Linked DNA regions of Homo sapiens: all the other regions are linked to region 4. Evidence: promoter capture Hi-C in 16 types of primary human blood cells and fetal thymus (Javierre and others, 2016). All regions are on one chromosome and are shown on one strand. The core of a region is centred on a gene start or on the middle of the fragment in contact, and the rest is flanking DNA. Distances in the headings are between cores, read along the strand shown. Region 1 overlaps ARK2N (arkadia (RNF111) N-terminal like PKA signaling regulator 2N). Region 2 holds the start of PIAS2 (protein inhibitor of activated STAT 2). Region 3 holds the start of ELOA2 (elongin A2). Region 4 holds the start of LOXHD1 (lipoxygenase homology PLAT domains 1). Region 5 has its middle 50 kb from the start of ARK2C.

Region 1 (2,700 bases), core at 123-2,622, 390 kb before region 4:
GCTTAGAAGACTTCACCTTTTGTTTTTCATGGTTTTTGTTTGTTTTGTTTTTGTTTTTGTTTCCATTGTTACCGTTGCTATGGCCCTTTGCCTGTCTCTCCAAATCCCCTGGTGGCTCTTCTTATCATTAAGAGTATGAGAATTACCATTTTCAGTTTTCATTCAGCAAACAAATTTACCAAGTGCCTGCTCTGCATAAGGCACTGTGAGGGGTGGGTGCTCTGGGGGCTGCTGAGATGAATGACACACACCGCACATACACATGCATCAGTGTCTGCCTGCCTCCACCTGCCCAGCCTGTTCTTCTTCTTCTTCTTCATCTTCTTCTTTTTTTTTTTTTTTTGTAAAGACAAGTTTATTCCTTTACGCTTCTTGTTGCATTAGTTCTCCTGTATGTTCCTTCTTCCACAGGAATGTATTTGTGCATATGTTCTTTGATCTTCTCTGATAGCATCTCATTTGATCTGGCCTCTGTCCTTCATCAGCTTTTATTTTTTTTATTTTTATTTTCTGCTTTTGTTAGATAAGGCTTTTAAGATCATGAACCTCCAGCTTTAGCAACTCATATATCAGTCTCTCACATGGCCACAATTCTAGACAAAAACCAAAGACCCAGAGGCCAGAGCAAAGTAGGACCTTCTGAAGATTCACTACTGGTGTATCCTTGGACCTTCACATTTTACTTTAGGATTAATTTATTGAATTTTACTGTTACACATAGTTTTTGACTTGAATTAAAATACTAGACAAAGCAGAAATGTACAATTTCTGGTCTGTGTTTTCCAGGAAATTCATAGAGAAGAGAATAGAGTGGATGATGTGACTTGAAGTTTTTGCAGCTTATTTTTTCCCCCACTGTCAGGGCAGAGGCCCATTTTAATGAATGTTTTTGCATGACCTGTTCTTATGTTAACCACATATTTTTTTTCCCAATTCCACACAGCAGGTGATTTCCCGTGTGACATATTTTCTTCATAGTCCCTAATATAGTCATCCTCTACAGAGTTGGCGTGCTGTGTGCACTGTGGATTAGGAACAGAGTGGAGCTGTAACCAGTCTCTTCTCTGGCCCTTTGCCTTTATGTCAGCTTGCACTTTTGCCTCACTTATTCCTAGTCCAGCTCCCAACTGCCTGACTTAATGGACCAGAACGGAGATTTGGATATTAAGATGCAGAGGGGGAGGGGAAGGGATGGTAGAGATAGACAGCTCTCCCCTACTAGGTTGGGTCATTTCCCCTAATAACTATAGAGAGACTGTGTTTCAACTCTCTTTTCATTGCTGTTTCCAGAAGAGTGGAGAGTGTGGTTTCAGGCAAGGTATTAATGATACAATTCCGTGGTATACAGCTCCTGTGACATTTGAAGTTTCTTTTAAAGGGGTTTTTCTTAATCAAAGTTTTACATTTGGTAGCATAAGTAGTTCTTTATGCTTCACAGGACATTGTCTTCAGAGTAATCTCTCTGCTAAAATGGTACATGTGGGTCACAGATTGGTTTATGCCACTGACTTGGTTAAGTTTCCACCCCCTCCAATTTGTGAAAAACAGAGCAGTGACCTAGCTGTTGCATCATCATGACTGCCATGTAACCTGTAATTGCTGCTCTCCAGTAATTGTCTTTTCATTTTGATGGTAGGGGCCAGACTGAATGAATAATGCATTCTTTTTTATTCAATTTATTTCATTCAGTTTATTCTTGGCAATCAAACATCCCATAAACTTTGCTTTTATTATCAATTATGAATATGAATTGTCTGGTTTACTAATGTAGTCATTTGTTCATCTTTACTTTTAGCAGATTAGCACCATAACTAACTTAAAACTAAGTTTGTTACCTGCTTTTTATACTGTCACAAAGGTTTTTGAAAAAGCTGGGGACACTATTTTGTCTTTTAGTTTTAAACTTTTTTAAGGCAAAGCAAGCTCCCCAATCCCTGTTCTCCAATATGTGTATGATGTGACTTCCATGTAGATATAAAAATGATTGTGCCCTAACCAAACTTCCTCAGATTGTGCACTGTTTGTTTAAAATAATCACGTATTTTAGTCTGATGCTGTTGTATTTTTTCATTTTATTTAAAACACTACTTACTTCTTATTCTCTTAACAAATTTTAAAAGGTAGTGATCTTAAAAAAAAATCACTGGATAACTAGGAAATATTTTTGTTGTTGTTTTGTTTCTTAAAGAGTACAGAGGCCATTGAAGCCTTTTGCTCCTCTTACCGTGAAAATGAAATGTTAGCCATTGTATGGCTAGGAACCAATGCACTTGGCAGTTAATGGATCTGCTGTTGCTGGAGTGTGAGCGTGGACTTGATGCAGTGATGACAAATCATTGCTTAGAATTAATGTTTTCAAATGTGCAACTCTAGTTTTTAAAACAAAATTTGGTTCTTTACATTCATTATTTCGTTTTTGTTTCCCTTTAGTATTTAATGGTCTTTGGAGAAAAAATAATAAAACAGAGTGTTATATATATATTTTTTGGTGCAAGATAAGATTTTCTGTTTTTTGAAATAAGTCTGTAGCATAAAGGTTAAACTATTTTAAGACAAAATAAAATAGAGTGTATTTAAACAATGATATCTTCTGAGGTTTTTTTTTTTTTTTCTTTGTCCCTATCTGCTTCAGTTAATTAGGTGGTACCTGGAGCAATTTCCAAGTTACCTTTTAAATGTGAAAGTGGATTCTATTTTGTT
Region 2 (2,700 bases), core at 175-2,674, 260 kb after region 4:
TGTATTAATATGTGTTTACTGGGAACTTAATAATTATTTTTGAAACAGCAGGAGGGAATATGGCAGGCACTGTGCAAACTCCAACAATCTCCGTTTAGAGCAGAGGATACGTTCTTTTGCTCACGTCCACTAAGCAGGTAACCAGCCAACATCCTTCCCCCATCCCATCTCTTGCGGAAAACAATAAATATACAAAACTGAACCTTTTACCGGATTCCTCTTCCTTATTTGAAAAAGAAATCCTAATATCATAAGTGTTACACAAACGAGTTGCAGTAAATGTAATTTCAAGTTTACACTCATCTCTACCTTGATACATTTAAAAAAAAAAAAAATCAGGGTTTCTGTCCGTAAACATCTCATTTATGTCGCCAGTAATTCAGCGATACACACAAATCCATCTCATTCGTCACACTTAGTTAGGACTTTAAAGGTTATCAGTCTGGGGGGAAAAAGTCTCTTCTGTTCTACCCCCATCACAGCCCTATTCCAGACCTCTGCTATACAAGGGTATCAACAATAAAGTTATGATCTTGTTTTAAGACTGAGAAGAAAAAAATATTTTTCCTCAAGAGTAAAAGGGGTGCACAAACCTCACAACATAGACTTTGCAGATTTCTTACTAAAACACTAAGAAAATATCGAGGTTTAAGGCCGATTATTGAAGGCAGGGATCCCCAAACATTAGGTTCCTCGAAGATGTTAGGAGGCAAGGGTGGGAGAAGGGGCCTTTTCTCGTGACAGACCTGACTAAACGGTAGCATCAGCCATAAGAAGAGGAGAGATTCCTAAACGCAACTTCAGCTTTCAGAAAACAGTCCTCCACCAAGTGAGTAGCATGCAGACTTGTGAATAGCCACAGACACGTACACCCCGGTGAAGGTGCAAGATCAAACGTTGCTTCCCACATCGGCCCTCACTGCGAACCGGGATGTCGGGTCCCCATGTGCCCCTCCTGGAGGGCGCCCCGACCCCCCGCGCCAGGTGTGCGGACCACTGGCAGCACTCAGGAGCCGGCTCGCCGCGGCCCAGGCCCGCCGCCCCCGCGCCGCCCGCGTGCCCTCCGCCGGCCCGCTCCCCTCCCCCGCGCCCTCGGCGCCCGTTCGTCCGCGGGCCGGGGCTCAGGGCTCCGCCAACCGGCCCCAGAGGCACGAGCAGGCGGCGGCCGGCGACGTTGCGGTTTCCCCACCTCCTCTCCCATCCCCTCCCCCGCGGCCTCCGCTCTCCACTCCCGCTTACCCTCAACTCTTCGAAATCCGCCATTTTATACCACCCGCGGGCGCCGCCGCCGCTGCCGCCGCACCCACTCCCGCTGCCGCCAACGACGCTGCCGCCACCACGGCCGCCGCCGCCTCCAGCACCATCCTGCACTGGGCGCCGCTTAAGACGCCGCGGCCGCCGCCGCTACAGCCGGGCCCGTCACGTGAACGGCGCGGGAGCTCCGCCTCCGACGCGCCGAAGCCCCGCCCCTAGCGGTGCCCCCTGCCCACCCGCGCGACCGCCTTCCGCCCGCGCCTTCAGTCCGCGCGGCGACAGCGCCCGCCCGCGCCTGCCCCGGCGTGCTGCCCCGCGGCTTGGCCCCGCTCGGCCCCAGGTCGTGCCTTCCCTCCCCGGCGGAGGCCCCTGCGGACTGCCTAGAGCTGGGTCGCAACTGAGGCGTTATCCGCGGGCCTGGCCTCGGGAAGTGGCGGGGAGGAAGAAGAGGCGGCCGGGACGCGTGACAGGAGCATTCGGGAAGATTCTTACGGTGCCCTTCACGCGGTGCCTATGGACGGAGAAAGCCGCCGCAAATAAAACCATCCCCCAGAGTAGTTGTGGCGGAATAATCTAAATATGGGTGTTGGGTAAGCTATTGTTCCCATCTAATGGTGAGGTTGTGTGACACCTCTTTGAATTGCTAATGTCCTGCAAGTACCAACCTTGCCGAGTTTTTCTGACCTTGAAGGGCACCTGAAGGTCACGGACTGCAGAGTTGGGAGAGTTAGGCGGTGGGGTTGGGGGCGGGGAGAAGTGAAATAAGAGCGCTCAGAAGGGCCATGCTAAAAAGTCGGGGAAATCTGATAGCTAGGAAGGAGTCAAACGCCAAGGCAGAGTAAGTAGATAGAAGGAAGCTTGATGGCCCCCCCGTAATGTGCTGATATAGGATGAAGGAAGATGCTGAGTCAAGATGGCCAGAAAAATCGCTGGACGGTGTCCAGGGTTCAATTTCCTTGAAGAATTGGGTGGAACCCACACACGAGAGGTCTTTAAAACAATGTAACTTTTAAGGCCCTGTTTAATCAGCCTCCTACCTACCGCCTCTTCCCACTACCCCTCGTTTCATCCGCACTGCACTTCCAGGTCTTCCTTCCACTCCCCTGCCCCCGCACCCCGCAAGTTTTGTTTTTTTGAGACGGAGTTTTGCTCTTGTTGCCCAGGCTGGAGTGCAATGGCACGATCTCGGCTCACCGCAATGTCTGCCTCCCGGGTTCAAGCGATTCTCCTACCTCCGCCTCCCGAGTAGCTGCGATTGTATTTTTGGTAGAAACGAGGTTTCTCCAAGTTGGTCAGGCTGGTCTCCAACTCCGGACCTCAGGTGATCCGCCCGCCTCGGCCTCCCAAAGTACTGAGATTACAGGCGTGAGCCACTGCACCCGGCCTCCCCTCAAGTTTTAAGGCTTCTAAATGTTGATCCTTGAACCAAGAATAATTTCCCACTCT
Region 3 (2,700 bases), core at 55-2,554, 380 kb after region 4:
CTTCTTGTTCGAGTGACTGTGCTGAGGCCTCTTCTGGTGACTGTCTGGAGCCTCCTCCAAGGCAGGGACACGCTGGCCGCTGCCAGCTTGCCCCCCTTCCTTGTCTGTCTTGAAGTCCGAAGGCTGCCTGTCCCTGGCACTTGCCCAGGAGGGCATCCTTGGGGTTTCCTCTCTTAAGCAGGCCCCGCATGATTTCTCCCTGATCAAAGTAGGGGAGTGCCAATCTCCCTGGGCACACAAGGGGCGTTTTTCCTGGCGAGACGATTTGTGCCCCTTGCTGTGGCTCACAACGGCTTTCCCCTGGGGTTGGCCCTGGCAGCCTGGACACAGCAGAGGCCCGCCCTGAGCCGCGTGAGTGTGGCCTCTTCCGGGTTGCTTCCCGGGCGCAGCGGGCTCAGGGCCCTCGGGCATCCGGAGGGGAGCTGTGCGCGTTGGAGAGGCCCGATAGCGGCCGGAATCAGCTGGGGCTATTCTGGGGCACTTTCTCTCAGCTCTGGGCTCGCGACTGTGAGACCTCGGGTGAGGTCTCTGTTGCCCCGGAGGTGTTCTGCGTGCTGTCCGTCTGTGCTCAGGGCTGTGAGATGGGCTCCTGGGGGCCGTCGCGTTTTCTGGGAAGCCCCAGGCCTTTTCCTGGTCCTGAAGAGCCTCCCCGAAGCGCTGTCGGGAAGCGCTCTCCTCAGGGTCCTGTGGGCCAGGCCGGGTGTTTCGGTCCACGAGCACCAGCTTCTTCCACCGGGCCGCTAAGTCTCTGGCAAAGTCGCCCACGTGCTGGTGCTTCCGCAGGCGCTTCACCGTCTTTCTGATTCCAGTCTCCGCCAGGATGTCTGCCGTCATGGGCAAGGCGGAGAGTTTCTGCAAATATTTCTCTAGCTTTTTCGGCTCCGTCTTAGTGGCCAGACGCACCTGCAGCTTCTCCACTGCGTGCAGCGTAGTGGACCCTGCCGCCATCTCACCAGAGCTGTGCAGGCGTCGCTGTCCCGGCGGTCGCAGCTCTGTCTTTGGGGCTGCGGGACAGGAAGTCTGGGGTGGCCGGTCCTCGCTGCCCGGTCGCCAGGCAGCGACCTCGGGATGTGGAGTCACAGCCTGGAGCGAGCTGGGTCCTCGGAGCAGCAGGCCACTTGGTCTGGAACGGCCGTCCTTGCAGACAGCTGAGCAGGCCCGCTTTTGTTCCTCGGGATGTGGAGCCACAGCCTGGAGTGACCTCTGCAGTTTGCTGTGCAACAAAGAATGAAGCTCTGGTGCCAGAGCTGGGCCTTATGTAGCCCATCCCAGGCTGACACTCACGGCTCTAGCCCTGACCCTCTTAGCTCTTGGGCTGCCCCGCCCCCATACGTACTCATGCCGTCAGCACAATGCAGACAATCGGGACGGTCCACGCCAGGTGGACTGCTGTGCCCCAGAGGTTGATTAGGTTAATTTCAGCCTCGACACACCCCACTGAGTTTTACCGTTGACCTTCCATGTTCGCAGGTTCCACATCTGTGAATTCCAAAAAACACAGACTGAATCTTCTTGGGAGTAAAACAGAAAATAACACAGCAAGACAAAATCATAGAAAGAAGAACCAATACAGGATAACAACTCTTTGCCTAGGACTGATGTTGTGTGAGGGGACTTCCCAAATTTGTCAAAACAGGGATTAAAAGACAAAAATAAAACCGGTAGATTTTATTTCTTAACATCTGCTCCATCAATTTCGAGACAGTAGTTCGAGCACTGTCTTGACCCCGCCTTGTCCCTCAAGCCCTGATGTTTCTGGGAATTTAACTATTTCCAAGAAATCTTTTTTCCATTATTAACTGAAGAAAACTGGGTGCCGTTTGCAGAATTTTTAATACGAGGAAATAAATAGAAGTCAGCAGGTTCCACATCATGACTGCAAGGTGGACGCCTCATGATCTCCTTTTGAAACTCTTGCCAAACTGCCCTTTGTTCAGTGAAATGCTACAGCAAGAACTTTTTCATGATTAGGTAGAACTCTCTGGTAATGGTTTTTCTGCTCATGCTTTGGCTAGTTTTCTCAAAAACTCTGTTAGTAAGCATATTTGATCTTGGTTTGGCCCTTCAAAAAGTCTTTTAGTCATATCTTTTGAGCATTCCCCAAAACTGTTGCCATGACCTCTTCTCTTGACTGGTCCTCTCTGTCTTTGACTGGAGTGCTGCCACCTTTTGGTAGCCTTTGTTTTGTGCTCTTTCTTCAGGACTATCCAGTGTAGCCATGTTTTATCCCCGCTTACAAATCTTGGAATAAATATTTCTGGATCTTCTTCCACCTGTTTTAAAACTTTAAAGAAATTTTTACTCTTGTCTCTAGCTATTATTGTTGAAACAGATTTGGTATCTGGATCGGACTTTAATTTTCAGTGACAATTATTAAAACAGGATCATTTGAAATATCTATGGTTTTTTCTCTTATTTCTGTTGTTACTTATTTACCCTCTCAAATTAGGGAACACTTGGTCCTATGTTTCTGAGCATAGTTGACCAATTCTGACATTGTATTAAATTCAATAAATGTCTTTTCTGGATCTGTAGACACTTCTTTTGATATTTCTAGCATTTTTTTGGGTTGTACAGCATTTGAAAGTTAGGAAGTTTCCTGGCAGAGCCAGGAGATAGTCAGGAAACAAACAAGAAACAAATTAGAACCTACAGGTATATATATTCAACCTTTTAGGGGAATATTAGATGCAGGGACTG
Region 4 (2,700 bases), core at 139-2,638:
GCTTTGCAGGAAACAATGGAACAATTATGAATTGGATGTAATCAGGGAACTCATGGTGGACTGGAATCAAGGAGGGCTTCATGGAAGAGATGGGATCAGAACTGGGCTTTCAGAGTGAGGACAGGAAGAGGGAGAAAGGGGAAGACAAACAAGGCCATGGGCAGGCACAGAGCACACATTCAATAAATACTTGCTGAATGAATGAATGAGTGAATGCATGGATGACTATGGCGCTTACGGGGACTGGTGAGCCACTTTGGAGTCAGCATTGAGAATTTAAATGGCTTCAGAGACTAGGCAGGCAGCACTGATGAGTAAACCAGACCTAGTATGAGATGACAGGGAGTGGTGGAGACTGTGATAAGCTGGACGTCCACAGCCTATTGGCATTCACAGAAAAAAGGATTTCAAAACGCTGGAAAGGAAAAAAACAACTTAAACTCTGCTGGCCAAAACCAGCTCTAGGGTCACAGTTCACTTCTTTGGTTTACCTGGCAAGGAGTTAGAGCAATTTCAAGCAGGTCTCATGTGGCCCAGGGAAAGATGAGACTAGAAGGACAAGGCCCTGGGGTCCAGAGCACCGGCCGCCTTCGACATATGGGATGGACATCTCCTTGCAAAGCCCCAGGCTCCCTGTCTCCATCAACCACAGTGGGCATAGGATGAGCTGTCAGGCTTCCTCCCCAAGACATCCTTTCATGACCCCAGCAGTTCAGGGCGCTCTGCCTGATGCAGACCACCTACTCGGGGACCAGACTGGAACGTGGCTTTGGGGATGTTCAGGAGCTGGAGAACATGGGGCCATGGGGGCACTGTGGCTCTAGTCTATTCTGTTCCACTGAGAATCGGGGGCTAAAGGCAAGTTGCTCCACCTGTCTGTACAACAGGGACCCCACCATCCCTGCATAATGCCTGCCTTCTTACTCCGAGGGGATATGGAACAGACACATGGGATAATCAGTGAGGAAGGGCTTGCTCCGAAATCTTAGAATGACTCCCCATAGACAGGAACAGACCCCTGCCCACCGCAGCCAGCTGCACCACCCGCCCCCCGCAGGCTGGGACCCCGCACCTCTGGCCTTGTAGTACTCGTGTTCCAGCTCCCCCTCGTCGTCCTCCGAGGCGTAGTTCAGCAGCTCCGCTTCGTACAGGGCCAGGAAGTCGATGTCCTTCTTCCTCCGCCTTTTCTTCTGGGGCATCATTCTGTCGGCTGCCTTCTCCCAGCGCTCGCAGGCTCACTGTGCCGCCTCCTCACACCTGCGGGAACCTGAGACCTCCTCCCTGAGCTCTGGCGCCCACGGCCCTCCTATAGCTCAGGCCTGGGTGGGCCAGAGTGCCCCGTTTTCTTGGCTTCCCCGTGCCCAAGGTGCTGTTCCCTCTGCCTTCTCTGGCTCCTGAGCTGAACCTCAGTGCCTTATCTCTGAACCTCCTGTCCCTGTCCCCTCCCACCACCCTCTGGTGAGCCACCTCCTCCTCCTCTGTACCTGCCCCGGGGCTTCTCTTTGGGCCTCATCACTTATTCATGGCGCTGAGGGCAGGCTGACTTCCTTCCTCTCTCCCCTCCCCACCAGCCCTCTCTCCTCCCTATGGAGAATCAGGTGACACGGAGCCCTTGAAGTCCATTTCCCACCTGGCCTCACAGCCAGGGGGTCACCTGGGATCCCTCCAGGCCACCCCAGGGACAGGTGAGGGCTCCTCACCCAGGAGATCTCCCAAGCCTTACAGCCCACACGGGACCCTCCTGAGGAAGGCGGGGCCCCGGAATCAGCCAGGCTCCCAGGACTCAAAGGCCCCCGTTTCTCTCCATTATTCATGACCTCTGATCGTCTTACGGAGCAGGCGGGGTTCTCGCTGGATCCTTCTCGTTCTCTCTCTCTGCTTCCATCTCATCAAGACTGCGGGCTTCCGGAAGTGGCCTCTGGGCACGAGGAAAGCTAGGGCACCAGAAAACTCTCCCCGCTCCCCCTGCCAGGTGAGCTTTATATGCACTAAAGTTTAAACATCATCGTAGCCGATGCCCTCCCAGGTGAACTCACTAACTAGATCAGCTCACCACCTGGACTCACGGGAGGGCATCAGCAAGCTCCTACCCCAGGGCGCACAGCCCGGGCTGCACACCAGAAGCCCCCAGAGAGGTGTTGAACGCTAATGCGTGGGTCCCATCCCCAAGGATTCTGATTTGCTTGGTTTGGGACGCAGCTTGGGCCCCAGTTTTTAAAGCTCCTGGTGACTTTCATGTGCAGCCATGTTGAGGGTCCCTGAATCGCTTCTCAGGTAACTTAGGTGTGCTAACAGGAGTCCTCTAGAAGCAACACGTGTGATTTTGTCCTCTAAGCCAAAATAGTGACTCTAAAGGGGAATTTCAGGTGGAGAGGAAGAGAGGATTTGGAGCGGACGCCTGAGGAGCAGTCGGCACTCACAGGCCTCCCCGGCAGCCTGGGGCAGCTTTGGTCCTGCCCTGCTCTTTGGAGCCATCCAAATCTTCCACTAGGGGGAGGCATCTCTAACCCCGAACGTTCCTACCCAGGAAAGATCAACCTCCCCTCTTCCCCTATTCAGCTGAGGGGCCGCCCTTGAAGCAGCTCAAAGTCCTCTGAGGACCAGGAGTGAAGTTTAATGGTGGGTGGCGCGCGCCCCCTTCTGGCAATATGTGGTTTACACACCTGGATTCTTCAGGAAGAGACCTTCCTTAAGGATCTC
Region 5 (2,700 bases), core at 128-2,627, 370 kb before region 4:
GATGCCTGCTCCAATTTCAGAATGACTGCACTGCCTTTTGTTACCAGATTTGTTGCAAGTTACAGTCATCTACGGAGCTTTTGTCTAGGGTGCGCCCTGTACTGATTTAATCGCAATGTCTAGGAGTGGGAGTCAGGCAGCAGGATTTTTACAAAGATTCCCAGGTAATTCCAGTGTGCATTAAAGTAGGGGAACCACTACCCTAACCCAAACCTGGACAGTGGGGCACCAGAGAAAGCTTCGTGGAGGGGTGTCAGATAAGCAGAAACCTTAAATGCAGTTGGGACTTGATAGTGAACATACGTTGGAGGGGAATGTGGAGGGCTAGGAGGCCACTGGTGTCCATAGACATTTCTGAAGAGACTATAATCTAGTGTTAAGAAGCTGGACTACAAGAGTTCAATGTTCCAATGAGCTATGATCATGTCCCTGTACTCTGGGCTGGGTGACAGAGCAAGACGCTGTCTCTAAAAATAAAGAAGCTGGGCTATGGGAATAAGTCACCTGGGTGCGAATCCTGCTCCGCCCTTACCAGCTGTGTGACCACAGACAAGTCACTTAACCTCTCTGTTCCTCTTCCACACGGGGTTTCCGTGAGGATTAAGCACATATAGAAGGCACTGGTGGTATGGGCGTTGTAATCATAAATTGAGCTAAAGGCCCAGCACTAAACCAGAATGTTTTGGGGAGCTTAAGAGTCGCAAGAGATGGCACCAGCCAGATGAGAGGACAAAGCCACAAAAGGCTCTGGACCTAAAGGCACTGGGAAGCCATGGAAAGTGGCATGCATGGGGGAGCCACATGGAGATATGTGTGGATGTGCCAGAGAGCAACAAGGTGGAGGAGAGCAATCAGGGAGGGGCTCGTCCCCAAGAGACGGGGGAGATGTGACAGTGCCTGCCTGCCAGAGAGATGACTGAAGAGCTGAGATGGTGAAATAGGCAGGACTTGGAGACAGATTAGATTAGGTAGGAGTGGGAGAGGAGATGAAGAAATGTCCCTATTTCTGGGCTGGACGAATGAGGTGGTTGTGTCCTGATTTGGGGCACCCTTGCACACCCAGTTCCAGCACCAGGCTCTCTCTGTTCTGTAGACCGAGGCTGGGCCATAGGCATAGTGAGAGGAGCCTGCTGACTCACACTTCCCCCCACCCGACTTCCCAGGAACAATTTGAGTGTTTTGGAGTCATTCGTCATCCCTCGGTTGAAGACAGTGAAGGCCCATCCAGGCAGACTTACTTCTTGTTACTTGAATGTGTCGTGCATGTTCCCACCTCCAGGACTTTGCCCACACCTCCGCCTTTCCTCCCTGTCTACCAGAACCCAGCTGACCATCATCCCCTCCTCCACAACACAACCCTCCTTTAAGGCTCACCGCCTTGAGCCCTCCTGACCTCAGCGATTGTCCTGGAAGTGGGCAGCAGTCATGGATTGCTAGTCAATAGGATGTCAGTCCCTGCACCTGTGGCAACTGAAATATTAAGCTCCTGGAAGCTGAAAAGTGCCTCCCAGGTCTCTGCCCCTCCCAAGATGCCTGGCCTAGTGTTTTGTCAGACAGATGTAGGATGAGGGCCCTGATTGGACTGGGAGGAAAACACAATTCAATTACCAGCCAGGAAGGACTTGTTGAGAATTAGATTATCAGCCCCTGGGGGCTCGGTGGGAGAGAACAAAGGGTGGAAACTTCTCACAGGATTGCCCTCCCTGGGTCTCAGGGCATTGGGTATATCAGTTTCTGTAATGTGGTGCCTCTCCCATCCAGCAAGAGAGGTGGAGACAGCTGGGCTGAGCCCTCTTTGGCCTCTGCCAAATCCCCTCCAGTCAGCTTCTCCCGGTGCCTGGAGGTAGAGGTGAAAGATGACACCAGCACCCACAAGAGGCAGGACCACGGCCAGTGCTCTAGAAAAACCACTTGGCCCCTAAGGACTCCCTTACTGTGTGCCTATGGCCATGTTAGGTGCTGCACAGGACGTGCCAGAAATATTCAGATGGAAGCCTCAGAAATCATAGAAAGCCCCAGAAACAATGCCAGGGTAGAGGAAGTAAGAACTTGGACTTTGGACCCAGATAAACCCAGGTTTGGACCCTGAAATTGTTCACTGTCTAAGGCTCAGTGCAGGAGCCTGAACCTCTCTGAATCAGTTTCTTCATCTGCTAAATGGTCATAATAGCAGCTGTTATTCAAGTGATTAAAACTTTACACACACACATATATATTCAAAAGTATGATACAGTGCTAAGTGATACACGTGATGAAGCATTGTGAAGTCCTTGAGCGTGGTGTCTGGCATAGAGCAAGCTCCCAGTATGTGGCAGCTATTACTACTGCTGTTGTTTCATTCTGGTTCTGAATAATTACCACAATTGCAGGAAGGGAGAGTCCACCGAGTGGTCCTGAATGGCCGGAGAAGGAGACAGGACTTTTAGGATGAGTTCAGAAAGAGAGGAAGGACCAACCAGCCAGAGGGAGCAAAATGTCCCGATTTCCAAAAAGTGAAGAACATGATTCCTGGGATGTAAGCTTAACGACACTCAGTAGCATTCTAGAATTATTAAACAGGTGGTTTGGGAGCACTTTGCGAAGAACTGTGCCCATCCTGGAATTAACTCATTAAAATCATGTCAAATCAAACTCCCAGGGACTTGCGTTATCAAATAATTTTGTTTTCTTTTTCTTTCTTTTCTTCCTTTTTTTTTTTTT

What was found. The method cuts DNA at HindIII sites, captures the fragments that hold promoters and counts their contacts. A CHiCAGO score of 5 or more calls a contact.
Region 1: a contact is called between a fragment that was not itself captured here and the fragment with the promoter of LOXHD1 in region 4, in 2 of 17 cell types (M1 macrophages and monocytes). The highest score is 5.7, in M1 macrophages.
Region 2: the fragment with the promoter of PIAS2 here is called in contact with the fragment with the promoter of LOXHD1 in region 4 in 6 of 17 cell types (endothelial precursors, M0 macrophages, megakaryocytes and 3 more); the score reaches 11.5 in endothelial precursors.
Region 3: the fragment with the promoter of ELOA2 here is called in contact with the fragment with the promoter of LOXHD1 in region 4 in 4 of 17 cell types (M2 macrophages, megakaryocytes, endothelial precursors and 1 more); the score reaches 9.0 in M2 macrophages.
Region 5: a fragment that was not itself captured here is called in contact with the fragment with the promoter of LOXHD1 in region 4 in 14 of 17 cell types (M0 macrophages, total CD8 T cells, megakaryocytes and 11 more); the score reaches 17.2 in M0 macrophages.

What each region holds. Positions count from the first base shown.
Region 1 is chr18:46,264,409-46,267,108 of GRCh38, forward strand. ARK2N (arkadia (RNF111) N-terminal like PKA signaling regulator 2N) reads left to right here. Exons shown (of 5, transcript NM_145055.5): 5 at 1-2,584. Among named protein-coding and RNA genes, the nearest start is that of ARK2C, 68 kb to the right of the region's middle. The HindIII fragment of the contact is 6,556 bases long and covers 1-2,700 here.
Region 2 is chr18:46,916,083-46,918,782 of GRCh38, forward strand. PIAS2 (protein inhibitor of activated STAT 2) reads right to left here and starts at 1,425. Exons shown (of 14, transcript NM_004671.5): 1 at 1,240-1,425. The coding sequence starts at 1,263. KATNAL2 (katanin catalytic subunit A1 like 2) reads left to right here and starts at 1,520. Exons shown (of 18, transcript NM_001387690.1): 1 at 1,520-1,844. RefSeq lists silencers at 795-874, 945-1,684 and an enhancer at 821-1,574. The HindIII fragment of the contact is 2,459 bases long and covers 1-2,109 here.
Region 3 is chr18:47,034,317-47,037,016 of GRCh38, forward strand. ELOA2 (elongin A2) reads right to left here and starts at 1,305. Exons shown (of 1, transcript NM_016427.3): 1 at 1-1,305. The coding sequence starts at 948. The region is part of intron 3 of KATNAL2 (katanin catalytic subunit A1 like 2); the gene reads left to right. The HindIII fragment of the contact is 9,917 bases long and covers 1-2,700 here.
Region 4 is chr18:46,655,832-46,658,531 of GRCh38, forward strand. It overlaps LOXHD1 (lipoxygenase homology PLAT domains 1), which reads right to left and starts at 1,389. Exons shown (of 41, transcript NM_001384474.1): 1 at 1,073-1,389. The coding sequence starts at 1,202. RefSeq lists enhancers at 1,637-2,586, 2,397-2,446. The HindIII fragment of the contact is 3,833 bases long and covers 1-2,700 here.
Region 5 is chr18:46,282,303-46,285,002 of GRCh38, forward strand. No RefSeq gene overlaps it. Among named protein-coding and RNA genes, the nearest start is that of ARK2C, 50 kb to the right of the region's middle. The HindIII fragment of the contact is 2,282 bases long and covers 237-2,518 here.